2 separate regions of the Homo sapiens genome follow, and region 1 is linked to region 2. Evidence: promoter capture Hi-C in human tissues and cell types (Jung and others, 2019). All regions are on one chromosome and are shown on one strand. Each heading gives the region's core, a stretch centred on a gene start or on the middle of the fragment in contact. The rest is flanking DNA. Distances are from core to core; before and after follow the strand shown. Region 1 overlaps NTM (neurotrimin). Region 2 holds the start of IGSF9B (immunoglobulin superfamily member 9B).

Evidence for each region. The method cuts DNA at HindIII sites, captures the fragments that hold promoters and counts their contacts. A contact is called where the count stands out against the background at its distance.
Region 1: a contact is called between a fragment that was not itself captured here and the fragment with the promoter of IGSF9B in region 2, in 1 of the 25 tissues and cell types used here (dorsolateral prefrontal cortex).

The regions. Positions count from the first base shown.
Region 1 is chr11:132,020,303-132,026,742 of GRCh38, reverse strand. The region is part of intron 2 of NTM (neurotrimin); the gene reads right to left. Among named protein-coding and RNA genes, the nearest start is that of NTM-AS3, 130 kb to the right of the region's middle. The HindIII fragment of the contact is 9,113 bases long and covers 568-6,440 here.
Region 2 is chr11:133,952,638-133,959,105 of GRCh38, reverse strand. IGSF9B (immunoglobulin superfamily member 9B) reads left to right here and starts at 2,138. Exons shown (of 20, transcript NM_001277285.4): 1 at 2,138-2,415. The coding sequence starts at 2,352. RefSeq lists a silencer at 1,960-2,309 and an enhancer at 6,455-6,468. The HindIII fragment of the contact is 2,013 bases long and covers 540-2,552 here.

The DNA.
Region 1 (6,440 bases), core at 3,875-6,374, 1.9 Mb after region 2:
TCCAATCAAAACCCAAGTTAAAACTGAACAAACAAAACCACAGCAAAAATAATTGTCTTGTTCTCAACACCAATTGCTGCAGATAATATCTGTGAATTGTCAGCATTGGAACCTAGTAACACTCACCAACACACACTAGAATTTTCTTCAGCACATTTAGCACCATATGAAAGCAGATGACAAAGCTATTGTAGATAAAAAACCAGTAGAAGGAAAAAAAATACCTCTGATGAAAATACAAGAAAAAGCAGATGACTCTACATTCTGGGTACCTCTGGAACCTAAAAAGAGCTTCTTGAACATGATCTGGCAGTGACCTGACAGCCAGGGATGTCTCATATAAGTGGACCCCAGGATGGTTTACATACGTGACTATTTGTACTCCTGATGAATGATACTTTTCTGAAAGGTGGAAAGCCAGGGGCATTTAACAGCTGCTTAGCAAGACTTCCTGATCATGCGGGGCAAGATGTTAACCCAAAGAATACACTAAGCTCTTACTGCCAGGGAAATACATTAGCAGTAGGAATATTATCGGTATTAGCAATAATTATAATAATTATGAGCATATACACAGCACTTTTATATCTGCAAAATGCACCGCATTCATCATAATGATTAGCATTTGTACAGTACTTTGTATTTCCCAAACACTCTGTGCTCATTAATTAGATAATGCTGGCAACATCTGTGGGCAAGTGTTACTACTCCCGTTTTACAGACACACGACACAGAGAAATTAATTGGCTTACTCAGGGCCACGTGATGAGTCAGTGACAGAATCAGGATTCCATGTCTAAGTTCCCAAATCTCTATTTTGTCTGTACTTTATGCAAAGCTGGGAGGTTGCTTCCAATTGAAAGGGAAGGGAAGGGCTTAGGACATGAAAATCAATTGCTCCCATGGCCTTTGAGTGATTAGTAAGTGCCAATGGAGCCATATGAAATCTATTTTCACAGAGAACTTCAGGATAAAAGCTATTCCTCAATAATCATTCTAGGGCAATGCTTCTCATCTTCAGCTCAGGCCACACCCCCGGCCAATTCGGTCTGAATCTGTGGCTATGGACCCAGCTATCAGAACATTCCAAAGCTCCCCAGGCAATCCCAGTGGGTAGTCACAGTGGAGTGAGAACTGCCGGTCTAGGACAGTGGCTCTCAAAGTTTAGGGAGCATCAGAGGGCTGCTTGAAGTGGATCCCTTGACTCAACCCCAAGAATTTCTCGTACAATGGGTCAGAAATGGGGCCCGAGTATGTGCATTTCTAACTAGTTCCCAAGTGATGCTCACTGCCAAGTCCCAGGACCACATTTTGAGAAGCACTAGTCTAAGGTTTTAGGTGCAGATAAAAGAATTACAAAATTGCTTCCAAAGATCCCTTCAAGCCCAGGCACTAAGACTTCAATAATTGGGTAGACTGCTAAAATGTAGAACAGACTGACCACCTGCCCACCAAATTCTGGGCACACAGGATGGCAGACCTCTTTCTCCAATTTCCCTTACCGTGAGCCCAACGGCATGTGAATGACTACATGACAATGGAAGATGAAGAGAAAGGCCAGTCCTAGGCCTGGACATGAAACATCTTGCTCAATCTTTCCTGCTACCCCACTGCTCAGCCTTCTAGCCTCTCTCTCTCCCCTCTGTAGCTGAATCCCATGACTCCAAGGTGCTGGTGCCACACGAGGGAAGGAATTCAGACACAGGAGTCTCCAGTCAGTGGAGAGACATTCTGTGGGTCTGTGCAACCTACTCCAGGCAATAAGGAGACTAGTAATTCACTTTATCGCATGAAGCCACTAGGATCTCAGGGTGTATTTGTTTCCACAGCATAGTCTAGTCCATCCTGACAATCCTGACACTCAGTGCCTGTAGTCGGTGTGTGTTCCTAACCTCCACAGAGAACAACTAAATCTGACAGACAAATGAGTAAGAGGACTAAGGCTAATATGCAAGTGAAAGTGATAGCTACATGCTCAGAGGTCAAGAATGTGACTGAGTCAGAAGTTGACAACTTCAGGGAAAGTCCGGAATATACCTATCCCAGTGTAACTGCAGCCAGACTGTATCTGCGCATCTGAGGTGTACTTTATCCCTCTCTTTAGAGAGAAGCCAGTCCCACATTTGCCCTATATGACTGGCCCTCCTTATCCACGGGTTCCAAATGCATAGATTCAACCAACTGGGGATCGAAACTATTCAAAAACAAAACCAACAAAAAAATCCAAAACAATACAGTAAAAATTTATATAGCATTTGCATTGTATTAGCCATTATAAGTAATCTATAGTTGACTAAAAGTATACAGAAGGATATGCATAGATTTTCTACAAATAATTTCCGATTTTAGGTAAGGGGTTTGAGCATCTGCAGATTTTAATATTGGAGGGAAATCCTGGAACCAGTGCCCCTCAGATACTGAAGGCCAGGACAACTGCACAAGCCTTTCAAGTCTGTAGGTCAGGAACACAGTGGCAGACACTGACCAAAGAAACAAGCTGACGGTAAAGGCACAGCCTGGATGTCTTTGGGGAAATGCAGAGAGCAAACAATTTTAAAAACACAAAACAAACATACCCTATCCTCCTTCCCTCTCTGTGGGAAATTTATTACATTAAAAAAAAAATGCTGGGTGCAGTAGCTCACACCTGTAATCCCAGCACTTGGGGAGCCCGAGGTGGGCGGATCACGAGGTCAGGAGATCGAGACCTCCTGGCTAACATGGTGAAACCCCATCTCTACTAAAAATACAAAAAAATTAGCTGGGCATGGTGGCACACACCTGTAGTCCCAGCTACTCGGGAGGCTGAGGCAGGAGAATTGCTTGAACCCAGGAGGTGGAGGTTGCAGTGAGCCGAGATCGCGCCACTGCACTCCAGCCTGGGCGACAGAGTGAGACTCCATCTCAACAACAACAACAACAACAACAACAAAACCACCACCACCAACAACAAAACCACCAACAACAACAAAACCACCACCAACAACAAAACCACCACCAACAACAAAACCAACAACAACAACAAAACCAACAACAACAACAAAGCATATCTTCCCTCTATCCCCTCAATTCTAGTGCTTGCAATAACGCTGTTCACTTCGAGAAGAACCCTGAATAATCCTATCGGACAGAGGGGTGCTCTTGGTGAGAAGGAGTCTGGAAATGCAAAGAGAGCTAGACACTGGAGCGGGCGCAAACTCCAAAACAACCAGGAGAGCAAGCCACTCTGGCTGCCCACCCTAGCCCCGCCAGCCCTGCAGCCAGGGTCAACACCTTTGCCAGGGTTTCTGGCCTTCTCACAGGCCCAGCTGTGACCAGAAGGCTCAATTTCACAGCTGTTCAGCTTCATATTGAACTTGTGCTTCCCAGCTGTAGTGCATTATTACTTGTGTTTGTTTGCCATCAGCTTTAATTAAGAGAGGTTTAATTTTCCAACATTATTTTGGCTCCTCTCTGCCCCAAAACCCACATGGAGAGCTGCTGTTGTTTTCTCCCCAGGCTCCACGATGGCATGTGCCCAGTAACAATGGAGATAATGTCCCACAGTCCCCCATGAGATATAACATGCCCAGGCGGCAGCACGTGACTAGGGTCTATGGTAAATGTGTCTTCCCCACGCTGCAAAGCCTCCTAATCAAAGTAAAATTTTCCCCTCTGCAAACCCAGGTCCTCCTTGTATTCTCTATAGTATTTTTTTAACATCTTCCCATGAGCTTCACATGGAGCCAGCCTGAGGAACTCAAACTTGATTCCAATCTGATTAGCCAACGTGGCCCTATCAGCTGAGACAGTAACATTTATCACATTAATAGGAAGGATAGAAGAAAACCGGGATCCCATCCAGCAGGAGCATTTTTATCACATGTTGCACTGACTTACAAATCCAATTATCACCAGCTGAAGGTCTTAACAGCCTTTGAATTGCATCTTTCAAATCTTAAAGGACCACAGTGCACATTTTCTTAGATTCCTCCTGCTGTACTTGATTCCATGCAGTTACAGGTATCTAGTCCACATGACAACTTCAGGGATAAAGCTGTCTGTGGAATGTTTCCCCTGAGTTTAACCAGGGAATTCAAGAGAAGCATGGATTAGGGACTGTCTTTTGACATTATTATATTCAACAAACATGAACTTGTAATTTACTTCACAGTCAGAGGTAGGATCTAGGGACCTAAGTGTTAGAGGGCTCTTAGTTGAGCACAAGGGAACTCGCAAAGAGTGGGTAGTGTCCTTTGCAGGGCCACGTGGGACTAAGAGTGTACTTACAAATTTAGAGAGCTGTGATAACGAATATCATGCGGACTCTGAAGAAACATCACCCAAAGCTACAAATATAAATGTCTGAGAACAGTGCTAAATAAAGACCAGTGACTTCTGTTATGGCAAAGAAAGAAGACTGTCAAATATTCTGTCCAAGAAAACAGAGCATAAAGTCGAGCAAAATTGACAAAATCAACCATTCCAGTGGAGTGGTAATTGAACGAAATCTTAACAATCTGAGAAGCATATGTTCTTGTGAAACTTCTGAACTTCGGTTAAGAACTGTGGGGCTCTGTGGTATTCTGACTCCAGCCCCAGCTCAGTCATGGAGGTTCCTCCAGGGTAGGGTAATACCTGAGGACCAGTGGCATCTCTGCCCTGGTTCAGAGGCTCACTTACTTTGAATGGTGAGTGACACCACAGCCAGTGGCACTGTTGGTAGAAGTCATTCTCTCAAAGGCTAGAGGGGAGGGCCAATGACTACCCCAGGTTCTGCTCAGGGCTAGGCAAGTACAAATCTGCATGCAAACACACCATAGCCTGGAGAGGGCTCAAGTCAGGCCTATATTCTTAGTTGACACTGAAGCTGGAAACCTGAGCAGAAAGGACATGACAGGACTCAGTAGGAAGCAAATATCAGGAGACATTGGAAATGGTCCGCACTTTGAAGGTGCTTCACTACCCATACACAAATCTATCAGAAGGGGACTAACTGGCTCAAGATGGTTGAGCACAACTTCTGTTTAAGCCTTGGATGTCAACTCAGTCCTGGGGGGCAACCTATGGGAAGAGAGACTTGAAAATTAAAACAGGATATAAAATTAAAGAAAATTTAAAAACATCAAAAAATCCCTAAGACATTAGTGACTGTTCATGCATAGCAAAGAAGACAGAGTCCACAGATTAGCCAGTTTGCTAAACAAGGAAAGACATAAACAGAAAAAAACAGCAAAATACAACCTTTGCGGGAAAAGTGAGGCTAGGAATATTTGCTAAAATATATTTTCTAAAACGTGCACTTAAAAAAAGTATGAGATATGCAAGGAAAGAGGAAACTGTGACCCATACAAAACAAAGTAGGCAATAGAAACTCTCTGATTGTCCCCAGATGTTGAATTTACCAGCTGAAATTTCAAGCCATTCTTATAAATATGTTTAAAAAACTAAAGAAAACCATGTTTTTGAAATTAAAGGAATATATGACAACAAAAAAATCCATATGTAGAGAGTCTAACAAAGGAAACAAAAGTATAAAGAGAACCAAATGCAAATTATGGAAACAAAAAGTACAATGAGAAAATTAAAATCTCACTGGAGGACCCAACAGCAGATTCGAGATGACAGAAGAAAGAATCCATGAATGTAGAAATAAATCCATATAAATTACCCAGTTGGAAAAAGAGGGGAAAAAAGACAGAAGAAAAATAAACAAAGCCTCAGAGTGCCAGCATATATAATAATGGGAATCCCATAAGGAGAGCAAAGAGGAAGCAAAAAATACACTCAATGAATAATAGTGAAAACTTCCCAAATTTGATTAAAAACACTAATCTAGATATCTAAAAAACTCTACAAATCCAAGGTAGGATAACTACAAAAAGAGCCACACCTTGACATATAATCATCCAACTTTTGGAACCAAAGAAAAAAATAAAACAACCATATAAGAAAAATTAATTGATAGCCATCCAAAAAAATTATAGGGGAACACTGAGAAGTTTAAGATGGCTGTGACCTCACATCTGAAATAATGAAGGCCAAGGCAATGGGATAACATATATTCAAGTACCAAAAGGAAAATAAAATACTATTAACCGGAAATTTAGTTTTCAGAAAAACCTTTTTTTTCAAATATGAGGGATAAATTCAGACATTTTCCACATTTTACCAGAATTTAGTTACTATCAATCTAAAGTAGATTGTGATAAGCTAAAATGTGTAGCATACTCATTAGAGTTACCACTAAACATTAACTCAAATAGACAAAATATTAATACAATAATTAAATGGTACACTATAATATTTATCTATATTTATTTAATACAAAATAAGACAATGTAAAAGAAATAGAGGAACTTAAAAAGAGAAATCACACAGAAATCAAATAGCAAAATGTCAAATGTAAATCCAGTCATAAAAATAAGTACCAGTAAATATGAATAATATAAATATCACAA
Region 2 (6,468 bases), core at 889-3,388:
ACTACTGGCATGAGCCTCCATGCCCGCCATCCATTCTGACAGACAGTTCTACTTTCCTAGCAGGAGGCAGAACCCTGAGTAGGACAAATGGATGGCCAGACAAAGCAATCAAGATGGGTGGTGAGAGTGGCTCCATCTTTTTCCTTGCCCTGCAGGCCCCTAGGAGAGGGTTTCTCTGAGACCTGATGTTTCCCACTCCATACCTAACAATGGTGAGGAACTAGGGCCAGGCTTTGTGGATCCGGCACTTTTCTCTAGGCCACAGTTAGCTGCTTAGAGGTTGTGGGAGGAGAAGGATCCTGTTATGACCAATTCTGCAAATGGATTCCAATATGTCTTTACAGTCCCGGGGCCCTGGGAAAGTGTGTAAGTGTGTGTGTATGTATATGTGTGTGTGTGTGTTGGGGGTGGAGTTATTCTGGGTCATGCCACCTGGAAATCACTGCATCAATGAGACCTGGAGATCACTGCATCAATGAGACCTGGAGCAGCTCACTTCATTGTCCCCAGAAAGGCATCTTTGCCCAAGAAGAGAACCAAAATCATGGCTCAGGGAGAGATGGCCCCAAGTTATGCATCTTGAGTGTGTTTGCACAGGTGGAGGGGTGGGTAGGGTAGAAGGTTATTCAACAGTCCTGGTTCTCTGGATCTATCCAGGCCCTCGACCTTTATCCATGTGCTCACTGACTGCTCTGTTGGGGGCCTCTTTCTGCCTCCCAGCTGGCGGTGAGCTAAGAGGCTTCCGGTGTCAGGGAATGCTCCACCTCCGGTGTTCAAGGCCACTTTTTGTGCATGTGTGTGTACCTGTGTGCACGCTTTCCCAGAAGCAAGTCTCCTTCTTGTTGTTTTGGGAGCTTCATGTCCTGGAGCCAGGGCTTTGTGGCTAACGAGTGCTTTGAGAGGATGAAATTCCTGAGCTCTCGCTCGCTGACCCTCTGCCTTCCTTCCTTGGCCAACAGCCCATCCCAGGGAGCGGTGTGATTCTTACCACTGCCTTCACTCCTTGAAAGAACAAACATCTTCACTGCAGCCTCTGAGCGCTGGTGTGAGGTGATTGTTTGTAGTAGATGTTTCCATGACACTCATTTATTTCTTCTGCAAATACAACTGTATTGGGGGAGGGGAAGCAGACAGGCTAGGGTAGGGAGACTGGAACATACGAAGACCTTCCAGTTTCCTATTTACATTCCTCTGTAGGATGAGAAGCTCCTTCCCTTTCCCTGGGTCTCCTCCATCCCAGACTCCTAAAGCTTCCCCCAAACCCATCTTGGTTTCATGCGGCCGAGTCGGGGCTGGGCTCCGAGTAAGGTGGAGAGGGGAGGAACCATGTGCGTGAGGAAGCAGCCTTTATCAGGAGAAGTGGGAAAAAGACCCAACTTTGACTGCTTGGAGTCGGGATTCAGTAATGATGAGCAGCAGTGACCAGCACTGGGGGTGGAGTGTGTGTGCACGAGTGTTCCTGAGGGGTCTGTGGCACTTCGCAGCTGAGCCAATGACTCACTCTAAATCTTAGCGACTTTGAGAGGTCATTTTAGTCATCCCCCGGTCTGCATCACGTTTGGAGGGGGTGGTGCGCTGCTCTGGGGACGTGTCTGGGTGCGGAGGGAGACGGGGTGGGGAGGCGGCGCGTGACCTCTTTGAAAAGATCTCCGGCGAAGGACGTTCCCCGGCTCTCCCGGGCCGCCGGCTCCTGGGTTTCCCCATCATAGAATCAGCATGGTCCTCTCGGGAACTGCTTTTTGCCGGATGGAAACCGGATGTTGGGTTCCATGAGTGGGCGGGGGCTCCACTTCCCTCAGACCTGTCCGGGGTAATTGAGACCCGCCAGGGTCCCGTTAGAAGCTACCATTTCCCTCACCAGAAACTTGCCACGCAGTGTGAGCCGAGAGAGAAGCGGGCAGAGACGCTATACCACCTTCTCCCCGGCAATGCGCATGATTCTGCGGCTCTGTGCTCGCCACACTTCAACGCACCTTGAAATGGGCTCGCCTCCTTCGCGCCGCGACGGGCGGAAGGCTGAGCCAATCGGACCCCCGGCTTGCGGGCGGCGCCCAATAGGCGGGCGGCGGGGGCGGTTCCGGAGGCCCGGCCCGGCTAGGCTTCACCGTGGACCTGGCTGCGCTCCGCCCGGGCGAGTAGTGCAGGTGCCGCTGCGCCGGGGCCGGGGAGGCGCGCGCCGAGCCGAGCGGAGCCTAGGAGGGATGGAGAGCTGGCCACCCGGGCTGCAGGAGCACCGGCGCGGGGCGTAGGCGGCGCGAGGCGGGCGCGAGGCGGGCGCTCGGGCGCGAGGCGCGTGCGGGCGCGGGAGCACTTTGCGATAGGATGAGGCTCCGGGCTGGCGCGGTAGTACTATGATTTGGTATGTGGCCACTTTCATAGCAAGTGTGATCGGCACCCGAGGGCTTGCGGCTGAAGGTGAGTTGAAGTGCGGCGTCCCTCCCCTGCCCCTCCCGGCGCCCTCGGCCCCTCGCGCCCGGCCCCTCGGTTTCCCGGCTCCTTGGCCCCCCGGTTCCCCAGCTCCCCGGCGCGCCTTCCCGCGGGTGAGGCTTGGGCTCCGACGCGGGCCAGGCGGCCCGGGAGCATTGCCGGGGAGGGCCTGGGGGCCGTGGGCTGGAGGGGCGGGCGGGAAGGGGCCAGAGCCCACGGGCTGCCGGGCACTCGGGGAAAGGACGCAGTGGAACCTGGGTCGACTTCGCCCACCACGGGCCCCACGGTGCACACCGGCGCGCCTAGCCCGTCGCCTCCTGCCCGGCGGCCGCCTCCCAGAGCTGCGGGAAACTCTGGCTGCGGGAGTTTGCGGTCTCCGGGCAGGCTGCAGCACGCTAGAGCCCCGCGCCGCGAGGAGCGCCTGCAGGGAGGCGCGACCCGGAGGATCCCTGGGACTGGCGGCACCCGCGTCTAAGGCCCCGGGTTCGCGCGGCCCTGCGGGCGTCCATCGCTCCGCTCGCGCCCCTCCTGCCCACACATCTTGGCAGCTGGAGGTCGGATCCCCCTAGCAGGGGCGCCCGGTGAGAGGAGGATTGATGAGGCCAGCTTCGAGGTGTGTCCGCTTTTGGCTGGACCCCGCCGGCCCCCGCGCCTCTCAGCCGCACCTGGGCCCCGGCCAGGCAAAAGTTCCCCGGGAGCGCGCCGCAGCCGCGCGGGCCCCACGCCGCCCTCCCCAGGCTGCGAGGCAGAGCTGGCTGGGGGCGGCGGCGGGGGAGGGGAGGGGCGGGGAAGGGGGGGTCCCCACGCTGTGAATCCGAGCGGAGGGGGGATTTTCTCTTTCCGCTTTCCTGGGTCTGAGCTGGGGGAGACGCAAGGGGGGAGCCACCGAGTTGGGTGATGCGTGCGTGAGCGCGCGGGCTTTTGCTTTGGAGATGGGCAGAGCGACCTACAAGCCTCTGGGTGGCACCCCCGGCTCTCGGCCCTTGTATGGAAGTGGGAGCGGAGCCTGGAGGGTGCCAGGACTGTGAGCTCAGGGCTGTCAGCGCGCAGACACGACCCGGCTGCGGGCAAGTTCACCAAGCCGGAGGAGATGGCGGCGGGAGAGAACCCGCTGTGGGTGGGAGTCAGCAGGCAGGACTCGCCGACAGAGAACCCTCTCCCAGCGGCATGGGGCGCCGGGTGGGCTGGAGGCGCCTCTCACGGGGTCCCCTCGTCACTCGTCTGTGCAGGGGGGCGTGCTTCAGGAAACTTTCCGGAATGGAATGAATATGTCGCCTCTGCTTCTGAGGGGGGTGGTGGTGTCTGAAAACAGAACGAGCAGAGGGCGAAGCGAAGGGTGATTTTGTTAACTGACATGTTGGTCCGGACGGTTTTAAAACTCTTCATTTGTCAGGTGGGAACACTGAGGCAAGGGTGATGGCGGAAGCTTACGGAACGGGGGGTGGATGTGAGGTGCATCGGGCTGCGCTTGACAGTCTGCCTGTAGCCTCATCCTCTCCCCCATTTCCTTGCCGTCTTCCAATGCCCGCATCCTCCTCCCCTCCCGTTTTTGGTATGTTCCTGCTATGGGACTGTCCCTGAAAGCACAAAAGGATGAGCTGGGATCTTTGAATAGAAAAGAGACGCTGAAGGAAGGCTCTGAAATAGCCTCCGAACCTAAGTCAGGGTGGGCAATGGACTTCTTTGCAAGTTTCAGCCCAGAATAAAGGAATGTGAGTTTATACTGCAGCAACACGCAGAATCGCAAGATAGAAGGAAGGGCTTCCCAAAATTGAAGGCTGCCTGGCATGAAGGTTATGCCCTCTTTCAGGGTGCAGAGGGGTCCTTCTGTCTGGAATGGCTGGACATGTACCCCTGTCTGGAAGCAGAGGGTGACCTTGCTGGTCTTGGGGTCTTTCTTAGCCTCAATTGCTCTGTGTGTGGTAGTTAAGGACCTAGGTCTAGAGCCATATGACTGGGATTCAGATTCTGGCTGTGTCACCTGCCGACCCTGTGACCTTGGACAAATTCTCAACCTCTCTAAATGTCACTTGCTTCAATAGAAAATGTGCCAATAGCATGTACTTTTAGGGTTTTTAGGTGGACATGAGTGTTATAAGGAAACAAAACAACTACCTGTTATATAGTACGTGCTCAGTAAACATTAACATTATTTTCTCAGTGTCCCTGGGATTCCAAGATCCTCCTCAATTTCTTTCCCTTGGGCCATTCAGGGCACTAGGAGCTGAGAATGTGTTGCGGGGAAGTTCAGAAGGCTGCCTGTGTCAGGAAGTAAGACCCCTTTCTGGGCTGACCTTGTCTGGGCAGAACCTCTTGTCCCTGGCATCCCAGGGACACGTGTGCAGGATGTGCGGGCCTCAAAGCTGCTCGGAAGTCCTTTGCAAGGTCTCCAAAGCTGGAGTGTTGTTGGTGGCCAGAGGTTTATGGAAGGACACAGCCCGGGAAGTGAGGGCTTGCAACACACAGCCTCTGGAGAGAGCGGGTGGGCGCCCGCTCGTGTGAGCAGCACCAGCCAGTGTCCACATGCTGCTGAGTCTCCCTGTGAGAGCTCAGCTGTTCCCTGACTGGCAGAGGTGACTTCTGGGGCAGTCCCTCAGCAGGAGGGACTTTGAGATGCCACCCTTAGGATTTGGCCATAGCAGGGGCTGCTCTGGCAGAGGGGGAAAGGGATGATGTTGTGTTGGGACCCGACTCCATCAGCCCTCGGGTGCGGGACAGAGGTTGGAATGGGCTCCTCCTTTTGACTTTGAGTGTGTGTGCCTGGGAGGTGATTAAGGTCAGTGGACAGGTTGGGGAAGTGTGGAGAAGAGAGGGGCTGGAGTGGTACCCAGAACCTGGAAGACAGTGATTGGTGTGCACTCAGTATCTCAGACGGCTGCTGAGCCAGCCCGGGGGAGTTCCTACTCTGTGGGAGGACCCTGGGCCGTGCTTAGCTGATTGTGGACCTTGGATAGGGGAGGAAAGTCCCAGACTTTACTCCCACGGCTGCCTCCTCTGTCTGCCACAGATTCTGTCGTTACATTATCCCTGACTACAGTGTCCCCAAATACAGTGAGGTTCTGACTCAGATCCTGCTGGTAGTTGGGCCATTGCCCTCTACTTTCTACCTGGCCTTGACCTATGCTTCCTTTTGGTAATGAAGATGGGAGGGTGGAGGTTTGGACTCAGAGGTTGCTATCAAGACCCCGTGGTGAGCCTATCGGCTGAGAAGGACTTCACTCAGGAAGTGGTCAGTGGCTGGATGGATGTGTGTGTGTATCCTCAGCACACACATGCTGGGGACAGGAGTGTGTCTGGCAGCCTGTGCCCTGTGGGAAGCTGGGGAGACGGGGATGTGAGAAGGGCTTGGCTGAGGGGCAGAGGGCAATCAGCTTTCAGCCGCGGGCCTGTGGCCCTGCATGTGCTGGTCCTGGAGTTGCAGGGTCCTAGATAGACCTTGAGTGGTTTCGTGTTTATGGCTCTGAGACAGAAGGCTGGAATCTGGTTACAGAGGAGCAGAGGCTGCCTCGCTGGAAGATTCTGAGCCCCAGCATCACTCTGGCCCTCACTCCAACCTCCTGTACCTTTGCCTTCTCCCCAGCCAGGGTGCTGGCTGTGTCTTCTTCCTTGGCCCTCTCTTCCTCAGCCCTGCTGGGTGCTTCAAGATGTGGGGGTGGGAGATAAGCTCCAAAGAGGGCTGGGCCTGAGATTTAAGGTAGCTCTCTTCTCCACATCCTGTGGCCTTCTCAGGTTGGGGTGCAGAGTACTTAGGGAGCGGTCCCCTTCCACCTGCTTCCTAGAAGAGGTGAAGCAGCTTGTGTGAAGAGTGGATCTGAATGGTCAAAGAGCTGCAACTGCTGAGAGCTTCCAGCTGTCCAGAAGTGTGTGTGTGTGCACATGCATACATGTGCACATGTGTGTGCGCATACACACATGTTCCTATATGTGTACATATGTGTGTGCCCCTGCATGTGTGCATATATGTGCCCCTGTGTGTATGCATGCTGGCATGTATGTGCATTGCATATGTGTGCACACCTGTATGTGTGTGCACATGTGCCC